Linked DNA regions of Homo sapiens: region 2 is linked to region 1. Evidence: promoter capture Hi-C in 16 types of primary human blood cells and fetal thymus (Javierre and others, 2016). All regions are on one chromosome and are shown on one strand. The core of a region is centred on a gene start or on the middle of the fragment in contact, and the rest is flanking DNA. Distances in the headings are between cores, read along the strand shown. Region 1 holds the start of SLC25A40 (solute carrier family 25 member 40). Region 2 holds the start of CLDN12 (claudin 12).

Region 1 (6,870 bases), core at 2,688-5,187:
GGTCCCTCAACTATTATGTATGGCAGAAGTAATTCAAAATTTGTTTCTTGCAATTACCTCAGGAACTGCTGTGGAGATAGAAGAAAGAAGGTGACGGGGCAAGTAGTTCTTGCTTTAGCCTCTGTACTGCTGTTTTAGCCCAAGGGGTTCCCTTTTTACAGGCTTTACACATTGGACTTCTGAATATTATTTTGTTTAAAGGGTTCTACTGATAAAAACACAAATCTAAGTATCACTGATTTAGACCATTAGACCTAGAGTTAATGGGTTGTTCATCATATTTGAGAAAATTGTCATCAAACTGTATCAGATAGCTACTTTGAGCTACCTTTTTTTTTTTTTTTTGGACATAGGGTCTCACTGTCACTCATACTGGGGTACAGTGGCACAATCTTGGCTCACTGCAACCTCCGCCTCCCAGGTTCAAGTGATGCTCATGCCTCGGCCTCCCGAATAGCTGGGACTACAGGCATGCACCACCATGCTTGGCTAATTTTTGTATTTTTCAGTAGACATGGAGTTTTGCCATGTTGCCCAGGCTGGTCTTGAACTCCTGGCCTCAAGTCATCTACCTGCCTTGGCCTCCAAAAGTGCTAGGATTACAGGTGTGAATTACCAGCCAGATAGCCATTTGTAGCCATTGATTGCTAGAGGAACAGAATGGTGCAGGTACTATGTTGCTGTGGGAATTAAGAAGCTAATACTGCTCTAATTGGGCCATTTACTTTCTCTGGACCTCAAGTACTTTGTTTCTAAGATGAAGGGGTATTTTTTACTCAATGTCTAAGGTCCTTAACACATTAAGATACTCTTAATAGGTGTATAGTCAATAGGGTGGCAGGCCTAGAAAACATGACCTTTAAGAATGCTGTCATATGATCATTACCATAAATACAACTATTACAAGCATGTGACAGTGTTTTAGTTTAACAAAATGAATAGTAAAAAAGTAGAATAACTTTTCAGAGATAAGTAAATAAAATATATTAACAGTTCCAGGAAACCTGTTAGCACATGTTCTTCTGATAAGTTTCTAGTCTGGGAATCGGCTGGGCCTGGAGGGCTCATGCTTGCAATCCCAGCGCTTTAGAAGGCTGAGGTGGGCAAATCACCTGAGGTTAGAAGTTTGAGACCAGCCTGGGCAACACGGTGAAACCCTGACTCTACTAAAAATACAAAAATTACCCAGGAGTGGTGGCACATGCCTGTAATCGTAGCTACTCAGGAGACAGAGGCTGAGGCACAAGAATCACTTGAACCTGAGAGGAGGAGGTTGCAGTGAGCTGAGATCGCACCACTGCACTCCAACCTAGGCCATATAGAATGAGACTCCGTCTCAAAATAAAAATAAAAATAAATTGAAAAGTTACTAGTCTGGGAATGAAAGGATCAGTTTAGACATTCAAAGACGCAGACCTTCAGAAAGTCAAAGTCCAGCATGAACCTTTTAAACAGAAAAAAATCTTAATTACCTCATTTGCCAAAATTCAGCCAATATCAACCTTAATCCTATTAAGGTCCTAGAATTTTGCCTGAGTTTTCTAATTTCCCAATCATCTAATCAGTGTATAAGGTAGGAAAGAAGGTATTCCAGATTCTTAATGCAAATTTCTTTTCCTTTAATAACATTCATTCTGTTGAAACAACATCTGTATCACTCAGGAACAATTTTAACTGTGGTTTGCATGGCTGTTCTGTAGTAACATTCTTAACTGTTACACTAGTCCAGACAAACTTATGTAGCTCCCCAAGATTCATAATCAAGAAATTGCTGTTATCTGGAGGACATTCCAACATTACAGTAAGCAGTCAATGAGCAGTTCCACTAGGACAGGGGAGTCTTACACTCTAAGAACTTTACACTAGACTGCTAATCAGAGAAACCTGAAAGGTCTGTCAGTCCACAAAAGGTTAAAACAAATGGTTTTTTGTTAACGATAAACAGCTGATAAAAATGTTAAGCTTGGTGCTAATAGAAGCGTTTTCCAAAATGAAAAATTTAAATGATTACACAGTAGAAAGTACTAGTTACAAATTTTTCCTTCTATGCCAGTGTACGGTTTTCACTTACCCCTCCCAGATCCTTAATGTCCTTTTGAAGTTTTTCAGATATGGTGACAGAAGGTAAGTCAAGGTAAAATACTTTTCCCCAAAGTGGCTTACATTTGGATTTTTCTGGCCTGTTATCAGTTTTCAGAGATTTCAGAGATGGTCTGTTTTTTTCATTTTTGACTTGGATTCCACCTATTAAAGATGTTTAGAATCAGATGTTTTACACAGACACTTTTACTATTTTTAAAATATTTCATTATACAATATTACAGAATAAAAATCCTTACAACCCTACCAGTTTAAGTTATTAGCATTGAAATGTATTTCTTTGTAGTACTACTTAGGATAGAGGCAAAATGCCCTATATACTTTCACAGACCGCATATTGTAAAATAATAGTTGACTCAGCAAGAAATATTCGTGTGTTTATTCCTGAGGCACGGAACTATATAAAACTCTTTTGAAAGATTTTCTTTTTTTAGGATGTAAACTCCATGGGGATATTTAATACTCAACTATTTATTGAGCATCTGCCATTCTGCTGAACATTCAAAACTGGTGTTTAAACTTCATTTAGCGATGAAAGAATCCTCTGTTACGCAGAATAACCTAGTCCTCAAGGGTTTCAGACTGCTCAAGTTTTAGTTTCATATAAAGTTTGTCTGCATATTAACAACTAAACGGTCCATTTCACATACAATTTGTCTACGTATTAAGAACTTAACGGTCCATTACGAAGAACTAAACCTTTCATTATTTTCATTAGAAACAGATCTGAGATCCAAGCAACTGCTTTAAAAATTAATTTTTCAAACGCAATCTGTTCTTAAATTGGTAGTTACTACACACACACAAACACCTGTACAAAAAACTTAGGTGCTGGAATGTTTCACCAAATAAAGTGACTGAAAATGGAAATTTGCTTTTGTTTCCCTGTTTGTAATGTTGAAACCAGCAATGGGGTGTTTGAAATACAATGCTTTCCCCCAACTTATGAGGAAAGGAAAATAAACTTTCAAGGGTAAGACCAAAAATCCACCCACAATCACTCAATCTAATCCTGAAGCGAAAAGCCACGAGCGCGTCTGACTTTAAATTGAGGATGCAGTCCGTCGCCTCCAAGGGCCCGGGCGGAGGCTTAGCATATGCGAGAGCCCGGGAGCAGACAGCGCCGCAGTCCCGGCGAGGTCCCGGATCTGCACATTGTTTGCTAGTTTTCAACCGAAGGCACGACCGGGAATCAATCTGGGACCGCCGCTGTAAACGGCAGAGCGCTCGAGGGGCCGGGTCAGGATCCGTTCCTTCTTAGGCAAAACACTGAACGGGGGCTCCTTCCTTCAGACCCCAGAGGCCGGTCAGAAGAAAAGAAGCTGAGGACCCGGCGGGAGAAGTCTGAAGAATCAATGGTGGAACCACGAGGGGAGGAAAGGATTAAAGGGACTGCAGGCGGAGGAGGGGCTTCTTACCCTGGAAATGTCCTTTACTGTGGATCCTCATGGCTCCGGAGTTCATGGCAGTCGCCCGGCACCTACATGCTGGGTCCGGAGAAAGTGTCGCACCGGGCAGCCGCGAAAGCACGGCTTCCCCCGGCCTGTTGACAGGACGGCCGCCTCTCTCCTTCCGCCAGCTACGGCCTCTACGCAGTAGAGGTACCGCGTCTGCAGGTCGGGTTTCCGGGGCCGGATCCGGCTCCAAGGCGCGGAGGAGGAAGGCGCAAAGCACAAACGAGTGGGCTGCGGCGGTTGAAGATTTGAAAACGCGTCACGCGGCCGCGGCGCCGATACGCGCGCCCCGCCCCGTCTCACGCCACGCGCCGTGCCCCGCCTCGCGCTCGCCCCTCGTGCCTGCCTTCTCGCGCTGCGCGCCCCGCCCCCTCACGCCGCCGTCCTTCTCGCGCCTCGCTCTGGCCCTGCAGGTTGTGTTTCCGCCTCTACCCCGCCTCCATTCCGTTGCTCTCTCAGTCTCAGACCCGGGCTCTCGGTCCGCCGCTTCAGGTCTTGGCGCAGCCTCAGAGAGTTGGCGCGGCTCTGTGTTGACCAAACCTAGTGGATGCAGTTAGCGCCGGAGCCCGGCCCCGCCCGTCACCAGGGTTATTCCCGCCTTCTAGGTTTGCCAGGACTGCCGGCCCTGCAGCTGCCTTCTGCCCCAGGTATGCTAATTTTCCACTGGTCGGACGTCTGGGAAGCTGAAGGCGAGGGGCTTTGGCTGAGTCCGGACTCAGCTCTGGCCGGGCCCGGGGCCGGGGCCGGAACCGGAGCCGGACAGCGGCGGCAGCCGCAGCCCCTGCTCAGCGCGCCCTGGGTCGCACAGCAAGCGGGGTTTTCCCGCGGTCACTGCCGACCCCACCGGCTGAGGACAGCTGCAGAGGGACGTGCGGGAGTGAGGGCGGCCCCGGGGGGCGTCTGAGGGAGGGTCTGGCCAGGCGGCCCCGGCCTTGACGGCAGCGCCACCGCAGAACGCCTCCAGGTCACTTTGTGTCCTTGGGTAGTTGGCTATTTGCGCTGTCCTGTTGACTTTTATTGTATTCAGACCTGTTTTCTTTTAGTTGAGTGTAAGTTTATTTCAACAATGAAGGAGTGGAAAGTAACATCTCATTTTTTTTTCCTGTAAAACAGAGATTAAAGATCAAATTAAAATGCTTGTGAATATATTTTAATTTTATAAGTTGGAACATGCCTCTCCAAAAAAAAAAAAAAATCTGTTTCTTCAGGAGGAAGAGGATATTTTGAACTATTTTGCATTCCTCTACTCCAGGCCATAATAGGCACTCCTGTAGTGGTTGATTTTTTTACCTGGTAGCTCAAGGAAGTCAGAGTATCAGCGTTACGGTTTTGCAGGTAGGTACCTTAAAGAATAGACAAGGGTGGGTTGTGACAAGATTAGCTGGAGAACGCAGAGAACAGGTTTGCTAAGGGAAATGAGAGTTTGGTTTTAGACAGGTTTATGTTGAAGGGCCTGGGGCGACAGTCATGGAACTATGCTTATTAGACAGTTAAAGATGTTTATGACTCGAGAGAAATGTCTAGCAGAAGTGGACATGGGAAGAGGAAATAGAGATTGATTTGATATCTCTCCAATAAAATATTTCTGCATCAAGGTCTATTGATGTCAATCATGGGGCAATTCATTAGAGGTTAACAGATCTTGAGTGGTGGAAGGAAGTGTAGTTTGAACAAACATATTCAATATTGTAATTTCTATGGGAAAAAACTTATTTTCAAAATATAAGCTACAGAGAGCACAAAATGTTTATATTTACAGAAAGATTTAAAAAGTTGGGAAGCACTAATATAGAATGTAGTTAAAGCTTTGGGAGGAAATGAAATTGCCAAGGAGAGCATGTGAAATAAGAGAATTGATTATAAGCGTCGTTGATGAAATAGTGAAAGAGATGGAGAAAATGCCACAGAATTGGGAAGAGACTGCAAACATTGGAATCATATGGGCTTCACTAACTACTTGGCCTCTGGGTAATTTTGAGCCCCAATTTTAATCTATTAAAAGGGGGTAGTACTTCTCAGGGATGTTGTGAAGATTAAATGAACATTTTTGAATGCTTAGTACAGTGCCTGGCACAGAGTAGAGCTCCTTAAGAGCTCCATAATTACTATCATTCTAGTGAACACTGCACCAGTTCCTTCATCCCCAGGACAGATAAGGTTAAGACTTGAAAAATAAGTATTTGATTTTGGCGTTTCAGGTATCCTTGGTTTCCTTAAGGGTAATTTGAGTAGGTGGCAGAGATAAGTACAGTACTAGATAAAAATTATAATCTTGAAGTTCAGACAGGTTGAGTGTACTCTTTCAAAAAAATTTGTTATTGTAGGAAAGTATAATGAAGGGAAGACTGGATCTTTGGAAGGTTTAGAGGATGTGGGAAAGATTTTTAAGCATGCTTCTATTGAGGAACTTTTTTTTAAAAAAGGAAGTCCCATTTTATGGTCTTGTGAAAGATGAATTGTGTGTCTTATTTGCCGTGAAGAGGAAGGACAGTAACATAGTTGCACCCTATGCGGTTAGACTCACCCTCGACTGCACTGAAGATGGTAATTCCAAGCAATAAATAAGCAGGAAGTCCGCTTTATGCAATAGTTAGTAATTTTCTAATCTATTATCCAAGGTTAGTTTTTAAAATATTACTGGAACCTAAATCTGTTAGTAGCCACAGAAAGGATATGGCTGTAGTCAGTAAGGATAGAAACCTCCTTTTTATTGTCCAGTAATCAGGTCTGTTGGTAAGAGGGTAGGGTTTGTCTTAAAGTAGATCTTGAAAATATGCTTGAAAACATTTCTTCAGAGGAAGGGTAGACATTTAAGAAGAAGTGAATGGGGGCAGGGTTATTTATGGTGAGAAACTTTGTTCAAGAGTTATATTAGGCAAAATTGGAGAACATTGAGCAGAATCATGATCTAATTAAATGAATATGTGGCTGTGAATCAAGAGAAATGAATTTTATTCATTGCTGGCCCTGTCCCTAACTAGTTTTGTGACCATGGGCAAATGTTAACCTTTCTGGCTGGGCACGGTGGCTCAAGCCTATAATCCCAGCACTTTGGGAGGCCGAGGTGGCGGATCACGAGGTCAGAAGTTGGAGACCAGCCTGGCCAACATGGTGAAACTCTGGCTGTACTAACAATACAAAAATTAGCTGGGCATGGTGGTCCCCGCCTGTAACCCCAGCTACTCAGGAGGCTGAGGCAGGAGAATCACTTGAACCCAGAAGGCGGAGGTTGCAGTGAGCGGAAATTGCGCCACTGCACTCCAGCGTGGGCAACAGAGCGAGACTCCCTCTCAAAAAAAAAAAAAAAAAAAAAGTT
Region 2 (6,870 bases), core at 2,191-4,690, 2.5 Mb before region 1:
TTTCAAGCAAATTGGGAAAAAGCTGTCTTGCTTAATTGTGGCAACCAAACACCTCAGTACAGCAATGGAAACTAGTACAGATTTGAGAATGTTTGCACTGGAAAAAGCTACTAGAAATGCCAAGCTCTAGGATACAGCTCTCTGGTGGTCTTTGCTTATTCATCTGTCTATCTCCCCCATACAACTTGTGTGCCTGGCACACAAGTGATTCTAGGATTATTTGAATAAACGAGTATTGGGCTCTGTACAAAGACCCCAGTAACTCACAAAGGTGGGCCACTGGTAATGAAGAACTGTACAAGGAAGTAGCTATTACTAAGAAGCAATCATTCATTCAGCAAGTACTTACATCATGCTGAGTGTCTAGCATATGCAAAACACTCTGTTAGGCCCTGGAAAGACACCAAGACCACTGATAACTGGACCTTGCTCCCAATGTGTTTATAGAGACTTGTGGAAAGAAACGGCTGTCTTATGTAAACTCAAAGTGTTGGTGGTGAATCAACTGTATAATTACTACGTATCAAGTGATTATTGTTAGGTGTTAAGCAAAGTGAATAAGGTACCTGTTCATAAAAATTTATCAGGCAGGAGTTAAAGACTGAGAAATGAAGGAGAATAAGGATTTGATTAAAGTTGTGAAGACATAGGAAAAAGGTTCCCTCGTTTCTTTCAAGCTTCAGAAGTCTTCAGATAACCCACTCAAAGTCCTAATGCAATCACAATTCCTTCTTGCTTTCAGAAGTAATATACTGGCTGGGCGAATTGGCTCATGCCTGAAATCCCAGCACTTTGGGAGGCCAAGGCTGGTAGATCACTTGAGGTCAGGAGTTTCAGACCAGCCTGGTCAACATGGTGAAACCCCATCTCTACTAAAAATACAAAAACTAGCCAGGCATGGTGGCACGTGCCTGTAATCCCTGCTACTCAAGAGGCTGAGGCAGGAGAATCGCTTGAACCCAGGAGGTGGAGGTTGCAGTGAGCCAGATCACACCACTGCACTCCAGTCTGGGTGACAGAGCACGAGACTCTGTCTCAAAACAAACAAACAAACAAACAAACAGGAACAAAAAACAAAAGTAGTATAGAAATAATTGGAATTTCAATGTAATTGAGATTTCTCCAATCAAACTGCCCTGTAACACTGATTCCTGAAATGTAAATGGAGTGAGAAACAAGATCAGGATGTATAACTCCATTATTAATAAATTCCAGGCCAGGTGCTGTGGCTCATGCCTGTAATTCCAGCACTTGGGGAGGCTGCGGTGGGAGGATAGCTTGAGCCCAGGAGTTTGAGACCAGATTGGGCAACATAGCGAGACCCCATCTCTACAAAAAAAAGAAAAATTAATTATTAAGAAAAATAAATAAATTCCTATAATTCTTAGCCTATAGACTATCAAATGACATTAATGAAGAGAGGTACGACAATATATATTTCAGTAGTAAGTGCTTTTAACTATATTCTGCATCAAATCAATACAAATATTATATTGGTTCTCTGAAATTGCCTTTGATGAAGCATTCTTAGCTCAGATCTCAGGGATGGACAGAGGCCTATCTATACAGAGTCAACAAGGATACCACGGCACTTTTTCAGAAGGGAAGTACTATTAACCTTAATTCTTAAGCTAAATTTTGGCCTGATACTGGAATTAATGTCTAGCTTCTTTTGGCTACTTCACCTTGTATGCCCTGTTCTTAATTTCAAATGCCTATGATTTGATAAGTCATATATCCCACCAGAGAGATAAAGTAATTTCTTTTAAGACAGGGTCTTACTCTATCACCCAAGCTGGAGTGCAGGGCATGATCACAGCTCACTAGATTTCAGTGAGCTGAGATCCTGGGCTCAAGTAATCCTCCTGCCTCAGCCTCCTGAGTAGCTGGGATAACAGGTGCATGCCACCATGCCAGACTAATTTTTAAGTTTTCCCTAGAGATGGGGTCTTGCTGTGTTGCCCAGGCTGGTCTTGAACTCTTGGGCTCAAGCAATCCCCCCACCTCCACCTTTCAAAGGGCTGGGATTACAAAAGTAAGCCACCATGCCTGAAGTAAAATTTTATAGGATAGTTTGGGGAAAGAATATGTTTGATGTTTTAAAACAAAGATAATGCTGACTTCCCGATTAGGATTTGTTCATACTTGCAAGGGTAAAAAGACCTCTACTCTTGTGCTGTGTCAATTAGTTTTAATCCACAATAATTTTTTTCAAATGCAAACCTCATCCGCCATTCCATTTCTTACCATTCAATAAGTTCCCATTTCCCACAGAATAAAATCTCTAAAGTTTCAACTCCTCCCCATAGCTTACACCACCTGATTCCTACCAAATTCTCAACCTTCGTATGTGCCACTCTCCCACCCCACACACTACAGTCTATGCAGCCAAACCACATTTCTTTTGACTTCCCAAATTTTCCACTTTCTGATTTGGTTAAGGGCCTTCCCTCATGGTCTTTCTCCTAGAACTTTCTTAATTCCAACCTATTCTTTGCTTGGCTAATATTTACTCATTCTTCTAGTGTCCAGGGAGGCTTGTCCTAAACCTCCCCCTGTCCCTGGTTATATGCTGTGGTAGCACTTTTGCACTTTTTCTTCTGTAGCAGTGATCATTCTTATAACTCCTTGTTCAGTGTAGTTTTCTTTCCCATCAGACTGTGAATTCCAGGGACAGAGATCCCTTTGTTTTGTTCACTGTTCCCTATACTGGCACATAAAAGGCACTCGATTATTTGCTGAATGAATGAACAAACAAATGGAGGTTCTGTATAACTCTGGTCAGAATACAGACAGAAATTTAGTCTCAGTTCCATTCACTTCATTTGAGAGAATTCACACCACCCTGTGTTCTGATACATCCAGACTGTTTCTAGACTGTGCCCCTGCTTTCTCCTTTTTGGCCAAAAGACTCCCATTTTACAAAACAACATTCATTTTCTTACCCCAGAAACCTGTGATTAGCAAAGACAAGGCCATCCTTAGGTACCTACATGCAGACTATGATTCTAGAAATATATATCTAGGTTTAGCAACACTGTCTAACTTCAACAAATGGTTTGAAAGTCAATTATTCCTGGCGCGGCGTGGTGGCTCATGCCTGTAATCCCAGCACTTTGGGAGGCCGAGGTGGGTGGATCACGAGGTCAGGAGTTTGAGACTAGCCTGGCCAATATGGTGAAACCCCGAGACTCCATTTCAAAAACAAAAAGTCCACTGTTCCGGTATTGATTTTTCTGTTTTCAACTTAACAGGTATGTCATGAATTAGACATACTTCTCTTAAGAGTGGTTAATATATCAAATTAATATTTATTAAAGCTAAACAATATATAGTTTTTTTAATGGAGAAAAAAAAACATCTTTTTGCCATGTGAAAATCCCTAATTAGGGACTGTGGAAAACGTGCAAGGCTAAGAACACTTTAACAAATCTGTCAAGCAGTCATGAGTACTAGCTGGATGAGAGCTTTGAGCTAGGTCATACATACACATAAGTGGTTTGTTGTTTCCATCCAGGAGGCTGCTTGGTATTGTTGTCCAGGAGACCAAAGACCTGAATAACATTCATAACCTATCATTTACAAACTGGACAAGTCACTTATGTCCTCTGAACCTCCAATTTTTCATCTGTAAAGTGTCCCACAAAGTAGTAAAATCATGAATAGCAAAGTCCTTTGTAAACCAGAATATGGTCAGAAATGTAAGTCAGTAATGATTATTAGCAGGCTTATTTACTTTTTTCAGCTAGAAACATACTTTTCTTCTGGACCCTCAGCAAATGACTACAGATGGTTATAGTCATATAACAAGAAGGACAGAACATTCTCTTTGGAGATACTGACCAAATCAAATAGAGACTCTATTTCAAATAACCACTTCACATTTGTCATTTGACTCTCTGTTCCACCGTGACTCAGAAAAGTAGATAAAATTTGATACACAATTAAATGTTATCAGAGACATAATTACGAATAAAAATATTTTCAAATTATATATTTTCTGTGGTTTTGAATAGAATTTAAAGAAGGCTGGAGCAGGAACAGTGGCTAAGAGCTTTAGGAAGTCATGTATCCAATAGACCCTGTACTATTTTTTCCAGGCACAATTCTGAGTTATAGTTACAAGAGTTACGAGAGTACATATGTCTAATAGCAGCTAGCTTCTATTTTTTTGAGACAGGGTCTCGCTTTCTCACCCAGGCTGGAGCACAGTGGTGCAATCATGGCTCACTGCAGCCTCGACCTCCGAGGCTCAAGCAATCCTCCCACCTCAGCTTCCAGAGTAGCTGGGACTATAGGCATGTACCACCACAACTGGCTAATTTTTTAAAATTTTCTCATACAGTCAGGATCTCGCTATGTTGCCCAGGATGGTCTCAAACTCCTGGGCTCAAGGGATCCTTCCACCTCAGCCTCTCAAAGCGCTAGGGTTACAGGGCTGAGCCACCATGCCCAGCCCTAACTTAATTCTTGATGGTAACATTGAGAGTTCCTTCTACCTATAATTTGGGTTTTCTTAGAAACTGTAAGTCATCAGTCATTGTACTCACAAGAGAGGTCTGTCCTATACCTCTATTTTGTTGAACAAGAGAAAAAAAAAGAGTCATTGTTGGCAGATGTGGTAGCAGGAGGGAGGGAAATAAGATATAATTAAAGGACGTACTTACGCTTTGAGGTACCTGACAGTTCCAAAACAGCTTTATTCAGCTTAGAAGAGACACATGAAGATCTGAATACAGAGTAGCAATAATCTGAGCCTAAAGAAATAGGAAAAATACTCCAAATTAACATAGTACTTCTCTAAAAACCCTGCTTGAATTCCCATGGATTAGAAGAAATGATTAGTAATCACCTAAAACCAATGAAATGTTATACTAAAAAGGGCAGACAGTAAGTTTTTTAAAAAGGCAGTTTAGCAGGGGCACAGTGGCTTACACCTGTAATCCCAACACTTTGGGAAGCTGAGGCGGGATGATCACTTGAGCCCGAGTTCAAGACCAGCCTGGCCAACATGGCAAAACCCCATCTCTCCTAAAAATACAAAAATTAGCTGGGCATGGTGGCTCATGCCTATAGTCCCAGCCATGTGGGAGGTTAAGGCACAAGAACCGCTTGAACCTGGGAGGTGGAGGTTACCGTGAGCTGAGATTGCACCACTGCACTCCAGTGTTGGTGACAGAGAGAGATTCTGGCTCAAAAAATAATAATAATAATAATTAGCCAGGTGTGATGGTGCACACGTGTTGTCCCAGTTTCTTGGGAGGCTGACATGGAAGGATCACTTGAGCCCAGGAGTTTGAGGACACAGTGAGTCATGATCATGCCACTGCACTCCAGCCTGGATGACATAGCAATGATCTGTCTCAAATAATAAAAAAAAAAAAATAAAAAGGCTGTTTATTCCTTAATTCATGCATTATATATGAGAAATATATAGAATATAGAAAAATACGTAGAAATAGAAGAAAAAAATTAACTCATCTTGTGACTTGAGAATATAGGAGAAATGAGGATGAAAAACACTTTGCTGTCTTGGGAATATATGATTGATATTTAATGAATGTTTTAGATCATTTTCATGACTACGGTGAAAGGATAAGGAAGGTGGTGAAAGACTGTGCAGTTGTCTTGGAAGTAAAAGAAATTTTCTTTTACATTTTTAAAAAAGGACACTGACAACAAGACCAGACAAAGTTGATCTGAATTCTGCATCCTGAAATTTGCAACCAGAATGCTTAAAAAAAAAATAGTTCCACCAATGGCTCAACCTGATACTTAAAGATGCTTCTATATATCTACTTTAAACATTAGCCACTTCCTCTTCAAATACCATTTATCTCAAACAGGTAGGATGAGAATGGAAACTCATTATTATGTGCGCCTGAGAGTTTCCTGGATTGAGGCGTTCATCACTAGCCCTATTACGATCATTATGTAGAATGCTCTCTGCAACTGGCTGCTCGGAGATTTCAGTCAAGTCCCCCCCAACCCCTCCCCCGCCCCAAATGTGTTTCTTGGGTTGGTATCAATCATAATTGCACACTCCAAAGTCAGAGGAAATCGTTTTACAATTAATAACGCACAATAGAATCCTTGAGCAATCATTTTAAGTGAGGTCACCAAGTCTGACCTTTCCCTAACGTGGCTATGGGCCCCTTACAAGGCCGGGTGCACAGAACTTACAGGAAAGCAAACCAAGCTTCCAGAGCAATCCGCATCCCCCTCCGCCCCCCTCCTCCCCCCTCCGCCTCCTCTCCTCCTCCCTCTTTTCGAAGAGCCCTGTGTGTGGTAGACCCAGACCTGGCAGAAGGAAGAAAACGCCCTACTAGTTAGAGCCAATGGAGAGAGACCGCAACAGTGACTGTTAACGCTCTCAGAGCTAGCCCATCCCTGCAACACTGAGTGGGTTTGAACCGCAAGCAGGTCATCATTACGCAACCAGCATCAGCTGGTTATTCAAAAATAGCAGCTTGGGCTCCCCCACAAACCCGCGCCAGCAAAGCTCCCAGTCCTTGGCGGCTCCGGCAACACACCTCGACATTTCCATACTCCTGTGTACAAAATAATTTTTTAAAGCCTTACCAAATACCTACTCAATTTTCACATCCACAGATGTGGTCAGCGTTTTCCAACGCTCCTGATTCTCCTGGATTTAGCCATTTTACATAAAATCCTCAGTTACTTATGCAAAAGACCCAGAAATCGGAACATCTTGACCACACCTACCTGCTTCTCACACGCAGGGCATTTTACTCGCCCACACTGAGGAGCCTCTTGGAGCGTCTCCCTCTCAGCGTCCCAGGAAGTGCGTTCCCAGCGAGGTACACCGGAGGCTTCTGGGAGCGCAGTCAGGTTTTCCCGTGGCCCTGA

What was found. Contacts are between HindIII fragments. The CHiCAGO score rates a contact against its expected background, and 5 or more counts as called.
Region 2: a contact is called between a fragment that was not itself captured here and the fragment with the promoter of SLC25A40 in region 1, in 1 of 17 cell types (M2 macrophages). The highest score is 5.6, in M2 macrophages.

Annotation. Positions count from the first base shown.
Region 1 is chr7:87,873,427-87,880,296 of GRCh38, reverse strand. It overlaps SLC25A40 (solute carrier family 25 member 40), which reads left to right and starts at 3,937. Exons shown (of 12, transcript NM_018843.4): 1 at 3,937-4,201. It overlaps DBF4 (DBF4-CDC7 kinase regulatory subunit), which reads right to left and starts at 3,804. Exons shown (of 12, transcript NM_006716.4): 1 at 3,519-3,804; 2 at 2,072-2,244. The coding sequence starts at 3,564. RefSeq lists enhancers at 3,525-3,644, 3,832-4,341 and silencers at 3,705-3,964, 4,095-4,544. The HindIII fragment of the contact is 3,397 bases long and covers 1,965-5,361 here.
Region 2 is chr7:90,403,406-90,410,275 of GRCh38, reverse strand. CLDN12 (claudin 12) reads right to left here and starts at 6,815. Exons shown (of 4, transcript NM_001185072.3): 1 at 6,727-6,815; 2 at 4,668-4,757. RefSeq lists an enhancer at 6,110-6,635. The HindIII fragment of the contact is 5,522 bases long and covers 680-6,201 here.